Linked DNA regions of Homo sapiens: all the other regions are linked to region 1. Evidence: promoter capture Hi-C in 16 types of primary human blood cells and fetal thymus (Javierre and others, 2016). All regions are on one chromosome and are shown on one strand. Each heading gives the region's core, a stretch centred on a gene start or on the middle of the fragment in contact. The rest is flanking DNA. Distances are from core to core; before and after follow the strand shown. Region 1 holds the start of MAP2K3 (mitogen-activated protein kinase kinase 3). Region 2 has its middle 13 kb from the start of LINC01563. Region 3 has its middle 65 kb from the start of LINC02693. Region 4 has its middle 18 kb from the start of LINC01563.

Region 1 (5,569 bases), core at 959-3,458:
CATTGTGGCTCTGCCACCACATCCTTCCCCAGACCCCAAAGAGACTACAGAGTCCCTGGGCCTGAGGGAGGTCCCTGACCCTCCATCCAGCCCCCTCAACCTCATCTAGGACCTGGGTCCACATCTAGAAGTTCATTTTGGCCCTCTCACAGCATTCTCACTGCATCTATGACCCCTCTCCTTTCACAACTCTGCAACTGGAACTTTTATTTTGATGAGGCATTCTCTGCCTGGAGAGCTAAAAAGCCTCCAAAACAAACAGTGCTTCCTACCCTTCCCCGAGCTCTCCAGAGTGGAGAAGTGTCTGATTTCCTGGTTCCCAAGCTCCACGAGGTCTGTGCAGTGCAAGTCCCTCCCCAGACACCTCCCCCGTCGAGTGCCTCCCGAGTTACTCACAGTGGTTGGGCAATGGTCAGGGATCCGGCCTCCCACTTATGTAAGGCATAATTATCCAGCCCACCCGGCTCCAGCCACCATAGCAGCCAGCAGCAGGGGCCAGGAAGAGCCCATGCCCTCCCCAGGCCCACATAGGGCTCCCATTGGCCTGCACCCTCCAGAACAGAAGAGCGGCTGACCCCTGATGAAGTGCCCACTAGGTGCCCGCTGCTAGGTGCTTCCTCCTGCTCACTCTGAGGCTGCACTTCCAGCAGTGGAGGCCTTTCCAGCAAGAAGAATGGAAACAATAGCGAGATGTGTGCAGCCAGTGTACCCTGGTGAGCACCGGCTCTGCGCCAGGTGCTACGCTGAGAGAACGCCTCAGAGCTCTTTACTATTCACCACCCCACACCACACTCCCACGTCCACAGAAGCAGGTGCGATTACTTCCAATTTACAGAAAAGGAAACTGAGGCCCAGAGACACCAGGGAGCTTGCTGGGGTGAAGCAGCTGCAGGTTCAGAAAGCCAGGAGGCAGCCCATTCATTACGGCTATGTCCGGTTTGGAAATCTCTCGCACAACCCAGCCTACTGAAACTCCGACGCACCAAAAACATCCTTTCCTCTTCCTGAAAAAAAAAAAATTCCCCTTTTGCCCTCCGAGTTTCATCCTTCCCCCTCCGCATGACAAATCCTGCTGCTGCCACCTCACAAAAATTTCCAGGAAGGCCAGCTACTTGGAGAAGAGCAAATCCCTTGCACAGCCAGCACCCTGGCCTGGCGGCTGGCCCAGATCCCAGGCAGCCAGGACAAGAATAAGATGGGGTGAGAACCCCCAGTGCAGGGAGAAGCTTGCAACTCAAGACAGAGAGAGGCCGGTAGAGAGGGGGCTGTACCTTAGGGAGGGGTGGGAGGACAAGGAAGGTTCCTGGGAGCCCAGGGCTGCAGGACAGGGTGCAGGCCAGCCAGGGAAGGGGCAACATAGGGCCTATAAGGATAAGAAGAGCTGGGGGAGAGAAGGACGGGGAGTTCCGAGCTGGGGTGTAGCCAGAGCACCCGCATAGGGGGTACAGTGAGGTCCGCAACAACAGGAGCACTCTGGGGCCCAGATGGAGACTCAAGTTAAATCCCAACCTGGATACAGCCCTGGGACCCGAAGCTAGAAATGGGACTGGGTGCTGCCCAAGGACCCAGGTGAAGGCCAGTGTGAATCTCACCTGGGTCCCGCTGAGGGAGAAGACTGGGAGAGTTCATGTCCAGGCTGCAGCCATAAGGCCCAAATGAGGTCAGAATGAGGCTCCTGACTTGGATGGGGTGAGCAGAACAAAGTCCTAGTCTGGGTCCAGCCTGGGTGATCTCGGGCCTGAGTGCAGTCCCAAGGCCTAACGTGGGGGTCCAGGTGAGGGCCCAGGCGGGGGCTGGTCCCGGGACCCCGAACAGGAAGGGGTTCCGGGACCGGACGCCGCTGCCAGGTCGAGAACAGGATGGGGTGGGACCAAAGAAAGGTCGGGGTTTGCAGCCCGGCCCCAGATTAGGCGCGGGGTCAGGCCGAGGTCCCGGCCGGGAGCGCCTACCTTTGGACTGGGGCATGCTGGCGGGCTGGCTCGAGGCGGGCGACTCCATGCTGCAAGTGGGTCCTGGACGGCGGTGGAGACTAATCTAGAGGACTGCGGGCTCCACCGGGGCCGAGCACGCTCATGGCTGCGGGCAGACGGCCCAGGCCAGGCGGAGGAGCAGCGGCGGCGGCGGCGGCGGCGGCGGCGACTGCGGCGAGGACTGCGGCGGCGACTGCAGCAAGGACGAGTCCGCGACGGGCGGCGCCGGAGACAGACTGGGCAGCGCCGGGGAGACCCCGGCCGAACTGCGCTGACTCAGGCCCCGCCCCTGCGTGCCCGATTGGTCCTTTCGTTTCCAAGGCCCGTCCTCTGCCTATCAGACGCCGGCCTGTCCCTGCCTGTCAAGCACACGCCCCACCCTCCTTAGGCCCAGGATCCGGGCCCCTCCCGCTCTCTGTCAAGTCCGCCAGCCGCCCGAAAAACCCAGGTCCGGTCAGGCTCCGCCCCCTGGACTAAAGCCGCGCCCCTCGCGCTGCCCGTCAACATGCAAGCCCCACCCACTCCCGGGACCCACTGAGCCCGCTGCTCCCTGCAGGCGCCCAGGCCCAGCCCGGCACCCCCAGACCCGCAGCCCCGGCGGGTGCGATGCGCGGGCGCGTTCTCCTGGGTGCGTCGTCTGGAAAAAACCCGAGATCCCTAAAGGTGGCACGGCTGGGCCTGCCGAAGTGGGCGGGGGTTAAAAGTGCGCTGCTGGGCTGCCTCCTGGCTCTCTGAACCTGCAGCTGCCTCACCCTAGCAAGCTCCCTAGTGTCTCTGGGCCTCAGTTTCCTTTTCTGTAAATTGGACCCGGGTTCGGATCCGAGTCGGCAGCTTTGTAGCGGAACTAGCCTTGGTCAGGTGGTGACACCTGAGCCTCAGTCTACGCATCTGTGAGCGGGCGGCGGTGACAGCTATCTCCCGGCGCTGCTCGCTAACACGCACTGAGGGCCTGGCGCCAGCAAACGTCGCCCGCGCCCGCGCTCCAGGCGCCCGGCCAGGGCGCGGGGTCGGTGGTGAGCTCAGCGATGCCCGGTGACGAGGCAGCACGAGGAGTTTTCGTGGCTGGTTACTGCTGCCCCTGTTCTACACAGGGGGAAACCGTGTCTCAGAGGGAGTGAGGCGGCATGCGGTGCATTTTATCCCGCGAGCCCCGAGGCCCCATCCTGGCTCTCTCCTGGACCTTCGTTCTCTCCTCTCCTCCTAGGATCTCAGTCTGCCCATCTGCATAATGGCTGGATGGGCCAGTCCTCCCTCTGCTCCCACACGGAACCTCGGGGGATTTCAGGAACCGCTGACCAATCTGGCGCTGGGAACAGATGACTCTGGATGTAAAGCCAGGGCTAGTGAAGGCAGAATGTACCAGGCAAAGGTCAAGGGGTCAGCCCCTGGCCTCCAGGCAGACATGTGTACCCTGTCAGGGACCTCACGTGAGGGAAGCAGATTCCACCACCTGCTAGAAAGGCTTGAGGCCGGGCCTGACCTCTGCTTGCCCAGGTGTAAAGTGGGGGTGATGCAGGGCCCCATGCACAGAGTGGGGAGCCACAGGAGATAAGAGGGAAGCCTTGCAGCCATCACCATTCTCTTCCTGCGTCTCCTGTTCACCCTTCCCAGGCAGTGGGATGGAAAATCATGAGTCTGGGGCTCAGATAGGTATGGGTTCCAATACCAATTCCTCCACTTACTAGCTGGATGACCTTAAAGAAGTCACTGAGCAGCTCTGTGCCTCAGTTTACCTATCCCATGGGGACAATAAGGTCTCTGAAAGCGTTTCATGAGTTCAGGAGTGGAAACACCTGGCCTAGGGCTTGGCACTCACTAGGTGCCCAGGAAATGTGAGTTTGAAAACACTGTGGGCTGCCTCCATCCTTGCCATATCATCCCTGGTGACCTGTGCTTATCCGTCTGTAAAATGGGCATCCAGGAGCAGCTTCCTTTCTACCAGAACTGCAAGGCTAGTCCAGCGAGTTTTCTGGGTTCAGGCACTGGCCAACAGCCTTGACTTCTGCACAAGGCCACACTCCGCCTTGTGCACTCTGCTTCTTGGGATGTTCAAGAGTCTCAGTATTGCCCCTCAAATGTGCCAGGGATGGTCCTGCCGCAGCAGCTTCACCCTTGCTGCTCCTGCCCAGAACATTCTTCCACTCAAGCCTCCTGGGGCTGGTTCCCTCTCATCCCTCAGACCGCTTCCTAAATGAACACCCCTAAGAGGCCTTCTCATCATGGTCCCCAGACTGAGGCACAACACTTATGCTGCTGATGTCTTTGTTACTGACTCAGTTTTTAACACAGCTCTCCCTCCAGACCATCCGAGCCTCATTCCCTGCTGTGTTCCCAATGCATAGCCCAGAACCAGGCACATAGTAGGTGCCTGATAAATATTTGAGGAATGAAAAAAGGAAGGAGGAAAGCATCCACAGACCAGGGTGAAGCGACTCCAGTCCCGTGCCAACCTCCTTGGCGGCCAGATGACTCAGACAGGCCCTCGCATACAAGGAGTTTGGGGATTAGTCAGGAGCCCGATAAACAGCTCAGGAATCACAAAACTCCATGTGAGTGCTATAAATAGATGCATGAGCAAAAGTCCCAGGAGGGTGCCTGGGTGATGCAGCCATCTCCATCTGGGTGGGGACAAGGAAGGCCTCTCAGAGGAGGTGATTTTGAGACTGGACTTTTAAGGACCAGTAGGAGCTTACCAGGCAGAGAAGCAAGAAGAGCATCCCTGGAAAGGAACAGCAGAGGCAATGGGTTGGAGATGTAAAAAGGGCCACACATGAGGACCAGGTGAGGGCCAGACTGGGATGCACAGCTGCACCACTGGAGCTCAAGAAGTACCATCAAGAACCATCAGAGACAAAGGTCTCTTGCTGGCTTGCTATAGTGACATCTCTTGATTTCTTTCTGTCTGTAAGTGGCACAGTCAGATTGGGGAACTCCATGACCATGCAGAAAGCAGAATAAATGTTTGACATGGGTCACAAGAGGCTGCCTCTTACCTTGATTCCTAGGAGAAAAGTCCCAAACCTGCTCTCTGTGGATGCAGGAAACTGAGTCTCTGGATGGGAAGGATTGTGGCCAAAGTCAGGATGCAAGCATGATCTGAGGTGGGCAGGACCTGGGGTGACAGAAGGCTGTAAAGAGAGGCTGACTCAATAGCATTAACTATAAGTTTTGTGCTTCCAAATCACTTTTTGGTTTTTAAGAATTTCTTGATACTATTGTAGCCTGCCTTCGATTTTGATCCTTTATTCTTTCTATTTGTCAGGTGCACAAGATTACCTTCCTTTTTTAGCCTTCTGTCTTGTCACCAACCATTCCTACTTGGTGGCCATGTACTTGGAAAAAGGCCGCATGATCTTTCTGGCTCCAATCAATGTCTAAGGCACCCTGCTTCCTTTGCTTGCATCCCACAGACTATTTCCCTCATCCTATTTACTACAGCAAATCTCTCCTTAGTCGATGAGATTGTGTTTATCTCCCTTTAAAACCCTACCTATCCTGAATGGTCTGTCATTGTCTGCCTTTAAAATCCTTCCTCTTTCTTCTTCCTCTATTCTTTAAATAATGATGGGGCTAAGTTATACCCAAAGCATCACTTTACA
Region 2 (5,569 bases), core at 2,281-4,780, 220 kb after region 1:
CCCGCCTCAGCCTCCCAAAGTGCTGGGATTACAGGCATGAGCCACCACACCCAGACTGCCCTAAATTCTTTACTCTTTGAAACTCATTTAATCTTTATAACAGCCCCATAATGTGGATATTGTCATTACCCCATGTTACAAATTAGGAAACTGAGGCAGCAACTTGCTCAAAGTCACATGCCTGTAAGCACTGCAGACAGAATTGGAACCTAGGCAGTCTGGTCCCAGACCTAGGCTCTTTTATTTATTTATTTATTTTTTTATTAAGTCTTGCTCTGTCACCCAGGCTGGGGTGCAGTGGCGCAATTTTGAGACTAAGTCTCGCTCTGTTGCCCAAGCAGGGATGCAGTGGCGTGATCTTGGCTCACTGCAACCTCTGCTTACTGGGTTCAAACTATTCTCATGCCTCAGCCTCCTGAATAGCTGGACTTACAGCCATGCACCACCATGCCTGGCTAATTTTTGTATTTTTAGTAGAGACGGGGTTTCGCCATGTTGGCCAGGCTAGTCTCGAACTCCTGACCTTAAGTGATCCGCCCTCCTCAGCCTCCCAAAGTGCTGGGATTACAGGCATTAGCCTTTAATAATTACTACAGGGCCTGAAGCCATGTCCAGCCACTTTCTGACTTTAATCGTGACACAAGATGCTTTACTTTGTCCCCTTAGAGGCATGTATTCCATATTCCTAGCTATTTTAGAAATTATGTCTTCTGTGCTTTCTTTTATACAGAGGAGAATTCTAATAGCCAAACTATTTCAACAGGCCCTCGTGTGCTAGGGCCTTTCATTGAGTGAATATGCAAGGTTCTCTCATTAAGTAAAGATGAATTAGGAGCAAAACAACCAAATGATGAAGATGAATGAGACTGAGACAAGGACTGTGGCCAAAGCCCACATTCCACTGACTTCAGGATGTAGTCTCCTGCATTCTGTGGGGACGATACCCTCTGATGCTTGTATCCACTGTCACCTTGGGGAGGTGATTTGAGTTCCCAGAGGCTCCGTTTACCTGTCCACAAGAATGGGATGAAAGCACACACCTCACAGGATTATGGCAAGGGTCACAAGAGATCAGATGTGGAAAAGCCCTTTAACACCTACAAAGAGGCCGGGCGCAGTGGCTCACGCCTGTAATCCACACACTTTGGGAGGCCGAGGCAGGCAGATCACCTGAAGTCAAGAGTTTGAGACTAGCCTGATTAAAATGGTGAAACTCTGTCTCTACTGAAAATACAAAAATTAGCCGGGTGTGGTGGCGCACGCCTGTAGTTCCAACTGCTCGGAAGGCTGAGGCAGAAGAATTGCCTGAACCCAGGTGGCGGAGGTTTCAGTGAGCCGAGATTGCGCCACTGCACTCCAGCCTGGGCTGCAAGAGTGAAACTCCGTCTCAGAAACAACAACAACAACAGCAACAACAAAAACCTACAAAGAGTCATGCACATGGATGGTAATGGTATTTTTCTTCTCTACTCTTTTTTCCTTCTTCTTAGTGGAAAATATTACCCAACATGATATATGGCAATCTCTGCTTTGGCAGTTTGGAGGAATTAATGCAAAATAAATAATCTATTAAGACATTTGTGGGCTGGGCACAGTGGCTCACGCCTGTAATCCCAGCACTTTGGGAGGCCGAGGTGGGCAGATCGTGACGTCAGGAGTTTGAGAGCTTCCTGGCCAACATGGTGAAACCCCGTCTCTACTAAAAATACCAAAATTAGCCAGGTGTGGTGGCACACACCTGTAATTCCAGCTACTCAGGAGGCTGAGGCAGGAGAATCACTTGAACCCAGGAGGCAGAGGTTGCAGTGAGCCAAGATTGCACCATTGCACTCCAGCCTGGGTGACAGAGCAGGACTCCGTCTCAAAGAAAAAAAAGAAGACATTTGTGTCATCAGCACCACTGTTAAGAAAACTTATCCAAAGCTTGAAAATAAGGTAAACTGATTTTTAATTTCCTGCTAGACATTACAGCTTTGAGGGATATGCCTCTGCCTAGCCTACCATTTACTCCTGATTAGAACCCAGACATTTACAACTCTCTAAACTTAAAGATTAATGAGCAGACAACCAATAAGGTGCAGTGATTTTCCTTTGTCACCAGCAGAAAAGCCCACTCCAGAGCTGCATTTCCCTGGAGAATATGATTCTCAGAGCGTGGTGCTGGGCCAGCAGCAGCACTTGGGAATGTGGATTCTCAGGCCCCGCTCTGGACCTACAAAATCACAAACTCGGGGTGCAGCCAGGCACCCCAAGCTTCTTCTGTTGTGTGCTCTGGTTTGAGAAGGATTGTGGTGGAGCATTAACATTTTCCAGCTGATGAGCAAATATTATCTCAGTATTCCGTTTCCCATTACTGATTATAAAATTCCCTTTTCCTCATATCGTCTTTTGTCTTGTCTATGTCTTCCTGCTGGTTCCCTCACTAATGAGTTAAACACAATTTTCATGCCATGCTCACTACTCGTTTTTATGAGGATTATGTTTTTAACATTTTGAAAATTAGACTCTGACACCAACACTAAGGGAAATGCACTGAGTTTCTGTTTCTGGTTGTGCTTCCTGGTGGCTGCCGACAGGGCCTCTGTCACACTCCAGTGGCCTCCCAGCACCTAGTGAACAGCCACCCTCTGTTTGGGGAACGTTCCACATCAAGGGTCTCTCATCTTCAGGATGGGAAGGCCAGAAATTCACTTTCGCAGACTCCATTTCCTCAAGGGTACAACACATGATCAGGATCCACCACATGGGCGTGCCTGGGAGGGACCGCAGGAGACAGTGCAAACATGCTTCCCAGGCCCATTTTCTGGTGGAGGTAACTGGAGGGGTTCTCACTCTGTGGCCTCCTAGAATTTGGGTGGTTTCTTTGTCTTTTCATTTATTTATTTTAGAGATGAAGTCTTGTTGTGTTGCCCAGGCTGGTCTCAAACTCGTGACCTCAAGTGCTCCTCCTGCCTTGGCCTCCCAAAGTGTTGTTGATGGCAGCAGTGGGACATCCGGAGTGGCCACTGCCATCATGCCAGCTGCAGCAGGGAGGTACAGGCAGTGGTGGCAGGAGGCAGGAGTGGCTGCAGGAGCAGCAGTGGCAGTGGTGGGTCCCCTGTGCCCCATCTCAGAGGCAGCCAATGGCATCATCCCCACCCTCACATAGCCAGGCAGGACGCTCTCCCAGGCCCAGAGCCTCTGCTGTGGCTTCAACCTCGCTCCCCACCACATCCCGGGAGCCCGTGAGCACCGAGCCAAAGGCACAGCTGGGGCTTTCAGGGCCAGCCCTGAGAGCATCAGGTTCATTTGTGCGGGGTTGGCCAGGGTCGCCCTGCCACCTGCACCTCACCTGCCACCACTGCAGGGAAAACACAGAGAGGAGGTGAGCAGTCCTTGGAGCCCACCCCTGGGAGCCCTCCAAAGCCGGCCACCCTGGGAGCCACCAAGATGGGGCCAGGCTGAGTTGCCTGCCAGTGGGGGAGCAGCACGGTAGAGCACGGAGGGACGGGCAGAAAGGGGCTCCTAGGCGGAGCTGGACCCAGGGCAGTGCCATGCTCCATGGTACTGGGAGGAGCCAGAAGCAGAAGAGCCCCACCCTCCCAAGCACAGCTGCAGCAGCCCAAGTCACAGCTAGGGACCCTGGCCTCCCTGTACTCTTGGGGGCTGGAAGCAGGCAGGAGCCCTACCCTCCTGGGGGCAGCTGCAGCTGCCCAAGCCGTGGCTGAGGACCCAGGCATCTCTGCACTCTTGGGGACCAGGATGGCCCCCCTTCCTCCCACATGCTGGGAGTGTCTGCTCCCACTATCTGGCCTCTCCCTGCTCCTGGCACCCACTACAATCTTGAAGCAAGGATGGGGCTGAGCCTGGGCACTGTCACAGACCAGCCAGGTGTGCACACACTCAGGGCAGCACTGACATACCAGCCCCCTGCCACCTCAGCCCCCTCTGGACTTGGGCACTGATGAGCATGGGAAGGAGGCTGACAGTGGGCTGAGGGCAGCTTGGTGCTGGTCTGCAGGCACCCTTTGGCATGAACAGCCTAGGCTTCATGAATGGCAGCAGGAGGCATACAGGCCCCAGGGTGGAAGGCGACGGGTCCCCAGTGAAGCCCCAACTTCAAGCTAGGGAGGGCCTGAAGCCCGGGGGCTGGGCTGCTGGTCCTGTGGACTGGAATGGGAACTTGTGGTGCTTTTTCTGGGCCTACCCATGGCTGCCCATGGACCAATTGGCATGTGCTTCCTCCCTTCTGAGGCCCATAAAAACCCTGGACTTAGCCAGACCAGAAGAGATGTCGGGACTGCCAGCTGTGGAGAGGAGCTACCCACTCTAAGGTCTCCTCTCTGCTGAGAGCAGGGAAATGACAAGACAACCTTCTCTGCGGGGGAGCTACCCTCTCTACTGAGCGCTAAGTACTCATCGGGACGACCTGCCTAGGAGAGAGGAGCTACCCTCTCTATTAAGGGCTGAACACTCACTGGGACACCCTGGCTACGGAGAGGAGCTACTCACCGTGGCTCTCCTCTGAGCTGTTCCATTGCTCAATAAAGCTCCTCTTCATCTTGCTCACCCTTCACTTATCTGAGTACTTCATTCTTCCCGGACACAGGACAAGAACTCAGGACCTGCTAAATTGCAGGGCTAAGAGAGCTGTAACACAAACAGGGCTGAAACACACCCCTTGCTTGCCATGTTATGGGTGACAAGGAGAAAAAAAGAGAGGAGAGAAGAGCTGTGGCCCTTTGGGGAACCCAGACCTAGGAGCTCCCTGAGCCAGGGTTGTGCCTCCCCCTTTATGGCTCTGTGGTTCCTGGTGTCTCCAAGCTTCCAGGCACCACTGTGTTCCTCAGTGTCAGCTGTGGAAGTTGCTTATGGTATGCCTGGTCTAGCCACAGCCTCGCAGGAAGCTGGTGCCTGTACAGGTGCCTAGAACTGCCTGCCTGGCCATAACCGGCGTGCCTGGCTGTGCACAGTGGCCGGGCCCCATGCTTGCTCACACACCCCTTGCCGCTCCTCACCTGGCTCACCCTTGGCAAGTATGAGATCTAAGCCAGTAGCGCAAGCTGAGCACAGCCTGCCAGGCCGAGTGGGCAGAATGAGCCCAAACAGGCCAGAGCAAAACTTGGACAAAGGTGCCACTGGCCACAGAGGTTTCTGGCTGCTGAAGTGACACTCAAGGATCCTGTAATATTGGGATTATAGGCTGAGTCACTGCACCCAGCAATGGTGTCCTTTTCTGCTTAAACAAAAGCATCTTTCTTTCTTTCTTTCTTTCTTTCTTTCTTTCTTTCTTTCTTTCTTTCTTTCTTTCTTTTTTGAGATGGAGTTTCACTCTGTCACCCAGGCTAGAGTACAGTGGCACAATCTTGGCTCACTGAAACCTCCATCTCCTGGGTTCAAGTGATTCTCCTGCCTCAGCCTCCCAAGTAGCTGGGATAATAGGTGCCCACCACCACGCCCAGCTAATTTTTTTTTTTAGACGGAGTCTTGCTCTGTGGCCCAGGCTGGAGTGCAGTGGCACAATCTCGGCTCACTGCAACCTCTGCCTCCCTGGTTCAAGCAATTCGCCTGGCTCAGCCTCCCAAGTAGC
Region 3 (5,569 bases), core at 909-3,408, 200 kb before region 1:
GACTGCAAGGTGGAGTGGCTGGCACTGCAGATTCCACAAGGGACCCAGGGCAGGCATTTGGAGCATATGAAGGATTTTAGCTTTGTTTCAGGTCAGACTTTTGCTCTTTAACCTCATCAAGAGGATTTCTAAGGCAAGCCATGACACTATGATGTGTCTTTTAATTTAATCTTCCAATGAACATAAATAAGGCAGTTGTTTAGAATAAGAAATCTCTAAACTATTTTTTGTAATTTAGAGGTCTTTCTGACTTAAAGAATCCATCTTTTGGCTGCTAATGGCTAGAATTTCCAATGATGTACTTACTCTAATAGCAACTCCATCCCACAGCCTCTTCATGGAAAGCCCCGGATGTGGTTTTTCAGGCTTAGAGTAGGCTATTACCATTTAAGAAAGACTTGTTTCCTGAAGAGGGTGAGGATAGGCAGTTCCAAAGATCCCTCCAGTAAAATTCACTCCTAGAAACAGGCTCAGATAGGAAGAGACTTTTTTTAATTTTAACCCACAGTTTTTATTGGTTGAAGTAATAAAATAAAAATTAGCTCCTTAGTTCCTATTTCTTGTCTATTGTTTTTCTTTCTTTTTAAAATTTAATTTAATTTAACTTAGTTGTAAGTTCCAGGATACATGTGCAGGACATGCAGGTTTGTTACATAGGTAAACATGTGCCATGGCGGTTTGCTGCACCTACCAACCCATCACCTAGGTATCAAGCCCCGCATGCATTAGCTATTTAACCTGATACTCTCCCTCCCCACCACCGACAGGCCCCAGTGTGTGTTGTTCCCCTCCCTGTGTCCATGTGCTCTCATTGTTCAGCTCTCACTTATAAAGGAGAACATGCAGTGTTTTGTTTTCTGTTCATGTGTTAGTTTGCTGAGGATAATGGCTTCCAGCTCCATCCACGTCCCTGCAAAGCAACGGACTCTGTTGCCACACATGGTTAGGATGGTGTTTGTGTACACAGTGCCTCTGGTGACCCACACATTTCTGGGGACACCCATCAAAGACCCCTTAATTCATGACACTGGACAGCTCTCCTAGGATGGGACTTTCCCAGGACTATCCAGGCAACAAGGGCCAGACCACAAAAATTCCTTATGGATGGGACTTCTTATTAAGACAAACATTCCCAACAGCTGGACACATTCAGAGCAAAAAGTGTGCTGCCTAAAACCTTGTATCTCAGGTTCCCAGGCATCTTCAGACTGAACACCTGATGGGACCCAAAAATCACACCCCAGATGGTAGAAACAAGAGACAGTGCTCCCACTTGTCACAAGTCAAACACTCCAGGGCATAAAACAAGATGAGAGGGGTCCTCATCTGGCTTCTATTTTGTTTTTGTTGTTGTTTTGAGACGCAGTCTCTCACTCTGTCACCCACGCTGGAGTGCAGTGGCATGATCTTGGCTCACTGCAACCTCTGCCTCCTGGGTTCAGGTGGTTCTCCTGCCTCAGCCTCCTGAGTAGCAGGGATTACAGGTGCTCGCTACCATGCCTGGCTAATTTTTGTATTTTTAGTAGAGATGGGGTTTCACCATGTCAGCCAGGCTGGTCTTGAACCCTTGACCTCAAGTGATCTGCCCACCTCAGCCTCCCCAAGGACTGGGAGCCACCGCACCTGGCTTGGCTTCTATTTTGAGGACCCACAGCAAAGTTTGAATGCCCATCTGATCTCAGCCGCAGACTGGCTGCTCTTCAGGTCTGGCCTGAACAATGGGCTGGCAGGATCTTCAGCCCCCATTCTACCCTACAAGTCCTCTCCTCAGGACAGAACACAGGAAGACCAAGACAGAGGAGAAGAATCCTCCTGGAAGGAAGGGCACTAAACAATATGAATATTCACACCAAAAAGTACACCAGAGTCGCTGCACCCAACATTGTTCACACAGATCCTTTCTCACACTAATCAACATCTTGCAGAGGAAAAATGACTGATTTTTACCATCTGCTCACCTGGATTCCACAGAGAGACCAGCCAGAAGCCTGGCTGGTAAGAATTTGTTACCCTTCTGCCAGCTTGTCAGGTCCTGGGTCCCCTGACTGAAGCTTCCAGAAGAGCAAAGCAGCTTTGGTATTCTGTTCAGGACACCAAAACTGTAGGGGCCAAAAGAAAACCTCCACTTTGCCCTTGAAAAGTTCACTGAAAAATCAACTCACAAAAGTCAGATTAATTGGAGAAATGGCATGCACGTTTATTAATGTGCAGATGGAGAAGGACCAGAGCGATGATCCCAACCCCACAATGGTGTGCAGAAGCTTATTTACCGCCTTGAGATTACAGAAGGAACAGAGGCTGGGATGACAGCAAGACAGGTTAGGGGAGAGGGAGGAGGAGGCCTGGCTGGCAAAGGTGGTCTCAGAATGCAGACAGAACCACACAGACAGCAGTCCTCGGAGAGAATAGATGGTAAATGTTTCTTTCTGATGGCTAAATATGTCAGACTGTGAGGGACTCCTTCCTAGATCCAGACAAGGGAAGGCTTCAGAGGAAACTTGCCTGCGTCAGTGCGGATTCTCTACAGATGCAAACCTTCCCCTCAAAAGACAGCTTTGCAGGGCTGCTTCTGTTTGCAGGCCCCTCTAAACAGCCATCTCAAAATGTGTCCAAATATATTATGGGGTGAAATATTTTGGTTTCCTTCAACTACATCCTTACTACTTAGTTCAATGCAATTTCTCTTAGCCATGAACTCTTCAAGTCTTCTTTTTTGCCTGAAAAGGTTTTGATTCAATTCATAATCTTGAGTGATCACTATGTAAGCAGATAAATCTTGGTTGACAGTTATATTTCCTCAGTATATTAAAGAAACCTGGCTGGGTGCAGTGACTCATGCCTGAAATCCCAGCACTTTGGGAGGCCAAGGTGGGTGGATCGCTTGAGCTCAGGAGTTTGAGACCAGCCCGGGCAACATGACGAAGCCCTGTCTCTCCAAAAATTACAAAAATTAGCCGGGTGTGGTGGTGCATGCCTGTAGTCCCAGCTACTCAGGAGGCCGAGATGGAAGGATCCCTTGAACCCAGGAGGTGGAGGTTGCAGTAAGCCTGAGATCACACCACTGCACTCCAGCCTGAGCAACAGAGTGAAACTCTGCCTCAAAATAAATAAATAAATCTTTCCATGGTTGTTGTGTGGCTGTTGAGATATCTGCCTTGTCTACATTAATTTCTCTAATTTTTCCTATCTTTTATTTTGATGTAATTTCAGACACTTTAAAAGTTGCGGCCGGGCGTGGTGGCTCAGGCTTGTAATCCCAGCACTTAGGGAGGCTGAGGCAGGTGGATTCCCTGAGGTTTGAGACCATCCTGGCCAATGTGGTGCAACCCCGCCTCTACTAAAAATGCAAAAATTAGCTGGGCATGGTGCGGGGTGCCTGTAATCCCAGCTACTCAGGAGGCTGAAGTAGGACAATTGCTTGAACTCAGGGGATGGAGGTTGCAGTGAGCTGAGATCGCACCACCGCACTCCAGCCTGGGCAACAGAGCAAGACTCCATCTCAAAAAAGAAAAAAAAAAGTTGCAATAGTAGTGCAAAAAAAATCCATTTATGATTCCTTCAGATTCCTCTCATATTAACATTCAACTACATTTGCTAAATTCTCTTCTCTTGGTGCAGATGTAGAATACTATCACTATTTTCCTAGACCCTGTGAGAGTCAGTTGCAGACATGATGCTCCTTTACCTACAAGTATTGAGCGTGTGTTTCTGAAACCAAGGGCAGCTCTTACATTATCACAGTACAGTGATCAAAAACAGGAAATCTTCATTAACACAATACAATTCTCAGACCTTCACATCTTCTTCGGATTTTGCCAACGGTTCCAATATTGTTTTTATAGGGGAAGAAGATCCTGAACCATGCCTTCATTCAGTTGTCTCATCTGGAACTGTTCTGCAACCTCTTTGATTTCTTGATATTGATGTATTTCCAGATACAGGCTAGTCATTTAATAGAACGTCCCTCCATTTGGTTGCCTGATACGTCCTCACATTGAGAATCAGGTTTTGCACTTTCAGCAGGAACAGTACAGAGGGGATGCCGGGCTTTTTCAGTGCAACCGCTAACAAGAAACATGAAGCCAGTTTCTCCCCTGCTGTGAGGGTGAGGTGGGCTTTCTCCCTGGACTGCAACCACCTGGGTGAGTGTGTTTTATAAAATTATGCTTTCTCCACTGTAACCTTCTCCCGTTTCCATTTCTGAGTGCAAACTATCTTGTGGGTGGATACTTTTGAGATTCTGGGTCTCTTAAACATTAATTTTGGTTGATTTACTTCAGTATCACAATACTTCTGCATATTATCTACTTTCATTTATTCTTGGCACTCATTGTGGTTCTGGAATCTAAAGATCAATAGTTTTCATCAATTCCAGAAATTCCTTAGCCATTATCCCTTTGAATAGGACCGTTCTCTCATTATCTGCATTTTCTCCTTTTGTAATTATTGTCAAGCATATTTTGCATATTCTCATTTCAATTCTCCAGTCTCCTGATGATCTTTCACAGTTTGCAAATCTTTATTGCTATATATTCTAGACAATTCCACATATGGATATTCTTATAATTTCTATCATCATCTGAGGCTAATCTGTTGTGTTTTAATTTTTAACTTCACTGATTTCACTATTCTGTTGTGTTTTAATTTTTAACTTCACTGATTTCACTATTCACTTCCAGAAGTTCCCCCTTGGTGTTTCAAACAAACCTGTCTTCTGTGATGGCAATGTGGTATTTTCTAGTGACTGCAGCCATTCTTACCTATCTTTAATCCTTTTAAACCTAGTTAAAAGATTGCCTTCTTCCATGTTCCCTCTGAATGTTATCAGCTTCACATTGCTAAGGTTTTTGAGGTATAATTGACAAAGTGAGGTGTAATTGCTTTATTGAAGTATAGTTGTCTAAGGTTGTATACATTTAAGGTGATGTGATGATCACAGTGTGATGTTTTGATCTATGTATATATTGTGAACCCATTACCACAACCAAGCTAATTAACACATCTGTCACCTCACACAGTAAGCTTGTGTGTGCGTGATGAGAACCTTAAGATATGCTCTCAGCAAATGTCAAGTATTATTAACTATAGTCCCCATGCTGTATATTAGATTCCAGAACTTATTCGTCTTGTAACTGGGAGTTTGTGCTTATTTATTTATTTATTTTTGAGATGGAGTCTGGCTGTGTCACCAGGCTGGAGTGCAGTAGCATGATCTTGGCTCACTGCAACCTCTGCCTCCTGGGTTCAAATGATTCTCCCACCTCAGCCTCCTAAGTAGCTGGGATTACAGGTGCGCACCACCATGCCCAGCTAATTTTTGTACTTTTAGTAGAGATGGGGTTTCACCATGTTGGCCAGGATGGTCTTGAACTCCTGACCTCAGATGATCTGCCCTCCTTGGCCTCCCAAAGTGCTGGGGATTACAGGTGTGAGTCACCGCACCCAGCCAGAAGTTTGTACTTTTTGATCAACATCTCCCCATCCCCTCCACTCCCAGCCCCTGGCAACCCCTGTTCCCCTCTCTGCTTCTGTGAGTACAATTTTTTTAGATTTCACATCTAAAAACAGG
Region 4 (5,569 bases), core at 1,787-4,286, 190 kb after region 1:
CATGTTGGCCAGGCTGGTCTCAAACTCCTGGCCTCAAGTGATCCTCCTGCCTCAACCTCCCAAAGTGCTGGGATTACAGGCATGAGCCACTGCACCTGGCCTTTCTTTTCTTTTTTTTTTTTTTGGAGACAGTTGCCCAGGCTAGAGTGCAGTGGCAGTGGCACAGTCATGGTTCATTGCAACCACTGCCTCCTGGTCTCAAGTCATCCTCCCCGTTCCACTTCCCAAGTAGCTGGGACCATAGCCACACACCACCACGCCTGGCTAATTTTTATTTTTATTTTTATTTTTGTAGAGATGGAGTTTCGCTATGTTGCCCATGTTGGTCTTGAACTCCTGAGCTCTAGCAGTCTGCCTGCCTTAGCCTCCTAAAGAGCTGAGATTACAGGCATCAGCCACTGGGCCCAGCCCCATACTTGATTTTCTTTCTTTTTGAGACAGTCTGATGTTCAAGACTGCTCCAGTGTCCCACCTGTAGGTGGCCTTCCCTGACCTTTAGGGCTGAGTGAGGTGCTTCCTCCAGGCTCTCACAGTCCTTTGCATCCCTCTATCATGGCTCTACCATGCCCTATTATCACTGCCTGTTTACTTGTCTGATGCCCTCATTTAAAAGTTTAAACTCCCGTGAACAGTGACTGCATTTTTAAAATAAATCTGTATTCTCAGTAGCTAGGACAGAGCTAGAAGGAAAAAAAAAAATAGTAAGGGCTAGTAAAGTATACGGAGGGAACAACTTCAGCAAAGCTGGTGCTTACAAGTCAAGCACTGGCTGGGCAAGTCAGAGCAGGGCTTATGGGGACAGGCTGCCTGGTTCCCTATCCCAGCTTCACTCCAGCCTGGGCAACACCATGAGACTCGAACATTCTCTCTGACCTCTTCTATCCCTATCATTAGACAAGTTACTGAACTTCTCTGTGTCCCAGTTTCTGAAATAATGGGAATGAGAATGGTACTCCCAAAGAGAAAAGTCTAATGTACAAGTTTCATTACAAAGGAGTCTAGCTCTCAGAAAACCAACTAACAACGGACGGATAAAAAGAGAAGGTGGTGGCCGGGCGTGGTGGCTCACGCCTGTAGTCCCAGCACTTTGGGAGGCCAAGATGGGCAGATCACAAGGTCAGGAGATGGAGACCATCCTGGCTAACATGGTGAAACCTCATCTCTACTAAAAATACAAAAACAAAATTAGCCGGGCATGGTGGCAGGTGCCTGTAGTACGAGCTACTTGGGAGGCTGAGGCAGGAGAATGGCATGAACCCAGGAGGCGGAGTTTGCAGTGAGCTGAGATCACGCCACTACACTCCAGCCTGGACAGAGCAAGACTCCATCTCAAAAAAAAAAAAAAAAAGAGAGAGAAGGTGGTGCTTATTGTTCAAATTATTATACAGATGTCATCAATTGTCATTGGAGGTTGCTTGTCTTCTTTTGATAAAAACCAGAAATTTCTGTCTTTGATTAATTAAAAACAAGATATGGTTTATATAAGATGCTAAGCTTTTGGTGTATTTCAAGGCTTCCTGGAAGCTTCTATATTCATGGCCTGTCTCAGAATGCAAGGTTTTTAGAAATTGAAAGCTTTTTGTTTTTATTTTATTTTATTTTGAGAGACAGGCTTTCACTCTGTCACCCATGCTGGAGTGCAGTGGTGTGATCATAGCTCACTGCAGACTCAAACTCCTGAGTTGAAGGGTTCCCCCCGCCATAGCCTCCCGAGTAGCTGGCACTACAGGTGCGCACCACTATGCTTGGCTAACTTTTTTTTTTTTGGTGGTGACAGGGTCTTGCTATTGTTGCCCAGGCTGATGTTGAATTCCTAGCCTCAAGCAATCCTCCCATCTTGGCCTCCCAAAGCCCTGGGATTACAGATGTAAGCCACCACGGCTGGCCTTCCTTTTTACTTTTTGAAGTGTAAATATGTTCTGGGTTGAAGAGTCTAATGAGTCAACATCAGACAGAGCCAGTCTCAACTACCTCATTGGGTTGTTATGAGGTTTAAATTATACATACAGTTGACCTTTGAACAATACAGGTTTGAACTGGATGAGTCTATTTATAAACGGATTTAAAAAAATAAAATGTGCCTGCCTCTTCTGTCTCCCCTTCCATCTCCTCCACCACTTCTTTACCACTCCTGAGACCCCAACACCAACCCCTCCTCCCCCTCTCCCTCCTCCTCTTTCTCCCCCTCATCCTCTTCTGCCTTAGCCTACTCAACATGAAGATGATGAGGATGAAGACTTTTATGACGACCCACTAAATATATTTTCTTCCTTATAATTTTATTTTCTCTTTTTTTCTGAGACAGTGTCTTGCTCTGTCACCCATGGTGGAGTGCAGTGGCACAATCTCAGCTCACTGCAGCCTTGACCTCCAGGCTCAAGTGATCCTCCCACCTCGGCCTCAGAGTATCTGGGACCACAGGTGTGCACCACTACTCCTGGCTAATTTTTGTATTTTTTGTAGAGACAGGAATTCACTATGTTGCCCAGGCTGGTTTCAAACTCATGGACTCAAGTGATCCTCCTGCCTTGGCCTCCCAAAGTGCTGGGATTACAGGTGTGCGCCACTGCACCCGGCCTGATTTTCTTTTCTTTTCTTTTCTTTCTTTCTTTCTTTCTTTTTTTTTTTTTTTTTGAGATAGGGTCTCTCTCTGTCACCCAGGTTGGAGTGCAGTGGCGGGATCTCGGCTCACTGCAACCTCAACCTCCTGGGCTCAAGCGATCATCCTGCTTCAGCTTCCCAAGTAGCTGGGACTACAGGTGTGCACCAGCATGCCCAGCCTGGTTTTCTAAATAATGGTTTCTTTTCTCTAGCTTACTTTATTGTTAAGAATACAGAGTAGAATATATATAACATTAAAAAAATGTGCTAATCAACTTTATGTTATCAGTAAGGCTTCCCATCAACAGTAAGCTGTTGGTAGTTAAGCTTTGGGGGAATCCAATGTTATATGCAGTTTTTCAACTGTGTAGGGGGTTGGTGTTCCTAACACCCCCCCACCCCCGCCCACCGATTGTTCAAGGTCAACTGTATATGGATGGATGGATGGGTGGATGGATGGATCTATGTATCGCAATAGAACAGGTCTTGGTACATAGTAACTACTTAATAAGTATCAGTCAGCCTTGTTATTGCTGAAGCTTATCAAGGCCTCAGAAAGCCAGCTTCACATCCTCAGCCACCACTAAAACTGTGTGAATTTGGGCCTCTGAGCCGCAGTCCCTTGTGGGTGAAATGGAAATTGATGCCTGCTTCATGGGGCAGTTGTAAAGACCACACAAACATAGATGAAAAAGGGGTGGCCGAGTGCAGTGGCTCATGCCTGTACTTCCAGCACTTTGAGAGGCCAAGGCGGGCAGATTGCATGAGGTCAGGAGTTCGAAACCAGCCTGGCCAACATGGTGAAACCCCGTCTCTACTAAAAAAATACAAAAAAAAAAAAAAAAAAAGGCTGGATGCAGTGACTCAAGCCTGTAATCCCAGCACTTTGGGACGCCAAGGCGGGCGGATCACCTGGGTCAGGAGTTTGAGACCAGCCTGGCCAACATGGTGAAACCCCGTCTCTACTAAAAGTACAAAAATTAGCCAGGCGTGGTGGCGGGCACCTGTAATCCCAGCTACTCAGGATGCTGAGGCATGAGAATAGCTTGAACCTGGGAGGCGGAGGTTGCAGTGAGCCAAGATCACGCCACTGCACTCCAGCCTGGGCAACAAGAGCAAGACTCTGTCTCAAAAAAAAAAAAAAAATTAGCTGGGTGTGGTGGCACACGCCTGTAATCTCAGCTACTTGGGAGGCTGAGGCAGGAGAATCACGTGAACCTGGGAGGTGGAGGTTGCAGTGAGCCACGATCATGCGACTGTATCCCAGCCTGGGTGACAAAAGACAGACTCTGTCTCAAAAAAAAAAAAAGAAGAAGAAGGTGGTGGGGGTGGTTTCAAGAAGCATAAGAGATATTAATATTGAATGTTTTCCCCAAAACAGCTAAATACAGGATAGTCTAATTCGTTTCAGAGAAGAACATTTCCACGTGCACTTCATTTTCATTTCACTTTTATTACATGAAATCTGTACTCAGCTCCTTCTCCATTTCTGCCAGCAAAACGTCACTTTGCAGGTCTGTCCTTTGCAAGTAATGCTGAGTAGTTCACTTCAGAACCAGGCCTCAAAAACTGCAAGTCTTAAAATTTAACAAGGGGGTCTCAGAAAGAACAGGGAAGGTCAGAAAAAAATGTTACTTATTTATTTTATTTTTGAGACAGTCTCACTCTGTTACCCAGGCTGGAGTGCAGTGGTGTGATCTCATCTCATTGCAACCTCCGCCTCTAGTTTAAGCAATCCTCCCACCTCAGCCTCCCAAGTATCTGGGATCACAGGCACGTGCCACCACGCCCAGCTAATTTTTGTATTTTTTGGTAGAGACGGGGTTTCACATGTTGGCCAGGCTGGTCTTGAACTCCTGACCTCAAGTGATCCGCCTGCCTCGGCCTCCCAAAGTGCTGGGATTACAGATGTGAGCCACTACGCCTAGCCCTTTTTTTTTTTTTTTTTTTTTTTTTGAGACAGTCTCATTCTGTCACCCAGGCTGGAATGCAGTGGTGCGATCACAGCCCTGCAGCCTCAACCTCCTGGGCTTGAGTGATCCTCCCACCTCAGCCTCCTGAGTAGCTGGGGCTACAGATGCAAGCTACTACACCCAGCTCATTTATGTATTTTTAGTAGAGACGGAGTCTCGCTATGTTGTTTAGGCTGGTCTCAAACTCCTGGGCTCAAGCAATCCTCCCATCTTGGCCTCCCAAAGTGCTGGGATTATAGGCATGAACCACCACACCCGGCCAGAGAGAATGTTCTACATCACAAAGTATTTAAAATAATTTATTCTAAATAATCTATTTTAAATAAAATATTTTAGATTATTTATAATCATAATAAACTGTTTTAAATAAGCTGATTTGTGATGATGGTAACTTGAGAGCGGCCACCACAATCCTGCCCTCTGCTGTCAAATGGGAAGTGCAGAGTCATGTGAATATCTGTAACAGTTACCCACTTGTGCTGTGATTAAAATAAGCCTTTTCTTGCAAGTATAATGTAAACATAGACTTTAGAAATTGTTGCCATGTCTTGCACCAAAAAAAAAGGAAAAGAAGAAAAAGAAAAAGGAAGAAAAGAAGACCTACAAAAAGGACATTATTTCTACATGGTTACCTTAGTTGATAGTTGTTGCTCTGGTGATAGTGTTGTCATGGGCATCTCTGTATTCTTAACAGATACTTTTAAGGTTTACTTGTTAAATCTGAAGAGCATCGTTGGCCTTCTTTCTTCCCACATGCGTGATGGAAAATGTCCAACTCCTCTGGGCTTATTTAACAATGAGTTTGAGAGTTTGAATTAGGAAGCTGGACTCTGCTTATCAGGAAATTGTGATAATTCAACCTGCTTGGGACAGAAGTTGGCTCTTGTTAACATGTAGAAAAATGGTTTTTAATGATATCACATTTTTTAGTGATTGAATCTGGTGGGCATTACTAATTTCAAACTAATATATTACTTTTGTGATTACTTTGTTAA

What was found. Contacts are between HindIII fragments. The CHiCAGO score rates a contact against its expected background, and 5 or more counts as called.
Region 2: a fragment that was not itself captured here is called in contact with the fragment with the promoter of MAP2K3 in region 1 in 1 of 17 cell types (naive B cells); the score reaches 5.0 in naive B cells.
Region 3: a contact is called between a fragment that was not itself captured here and the fragment with the promoter of MAP2K3 in region 1, in 1 of 17 cell types (naive B cells). The highest score is 5.9, in naive B cells.
Region 4: a fragment that was not itself captured here is called in contact with the fragment with the promoter of MAP2K3 in region 1 in 1 of 17 cell types (naive CD8 T cells); the score reaches 5.6 in naive CD8 T cells.

What each region holds. Positions count from the first base shown.
Region 1 is chr17:21,281,350-21,286,918 of GRCh38, reverse strand. MAP2K3 (mitogen-activated protein kinase kinase 3) reads right to left here and starts at 2,208. Exons shown (of 12, transcript NM_145109.3): 1 at 1,950-2,208. The coding sequence starts at 1,998. RefSeq lists enhancers at 500-559, 2,636-3,136 and a silencer at 2,220-2,749. The HindIII fragment of the contact is 5,771 bases long and covers 1,229-5,569 here.
Region 2 is chr17:21,059,374-21,064,942 of GRCh38, reverse strand. No RefSeq gene overlaps it. Among named protein-coding and RNA genes, the nearest start is that of LINC01563, 13 kb to the left of the region's middle. RefSeq lists an enhancer at 2,841-2,960. The HindIII fragment of the contact is 2,550 bases long and covers 2,256-4,805 here.
Region 3 is chr17:21,483,653-21,489,221 of GRCh38, reverse strand. No RefSeq gene overlaps it. Among named protein-coding and RNA genes, the nearest start is that of LINC02693, 65 kb to the left of the region's middle. The HindIII fragment of the contact is 210 bases long and covers 2,054-2,263 here.
Region 4 is chr17:21,090,817-21,096,385 of GRCh38, reverse strand. No RefSeq gene overlaps it. Among named protein-coding and RNA genes, the nearest start is that of LINC01563, 18 kb to the right of the region's middle. The HindIII fragment of the contact is 212 bases long and covers 2,931-3,142 here.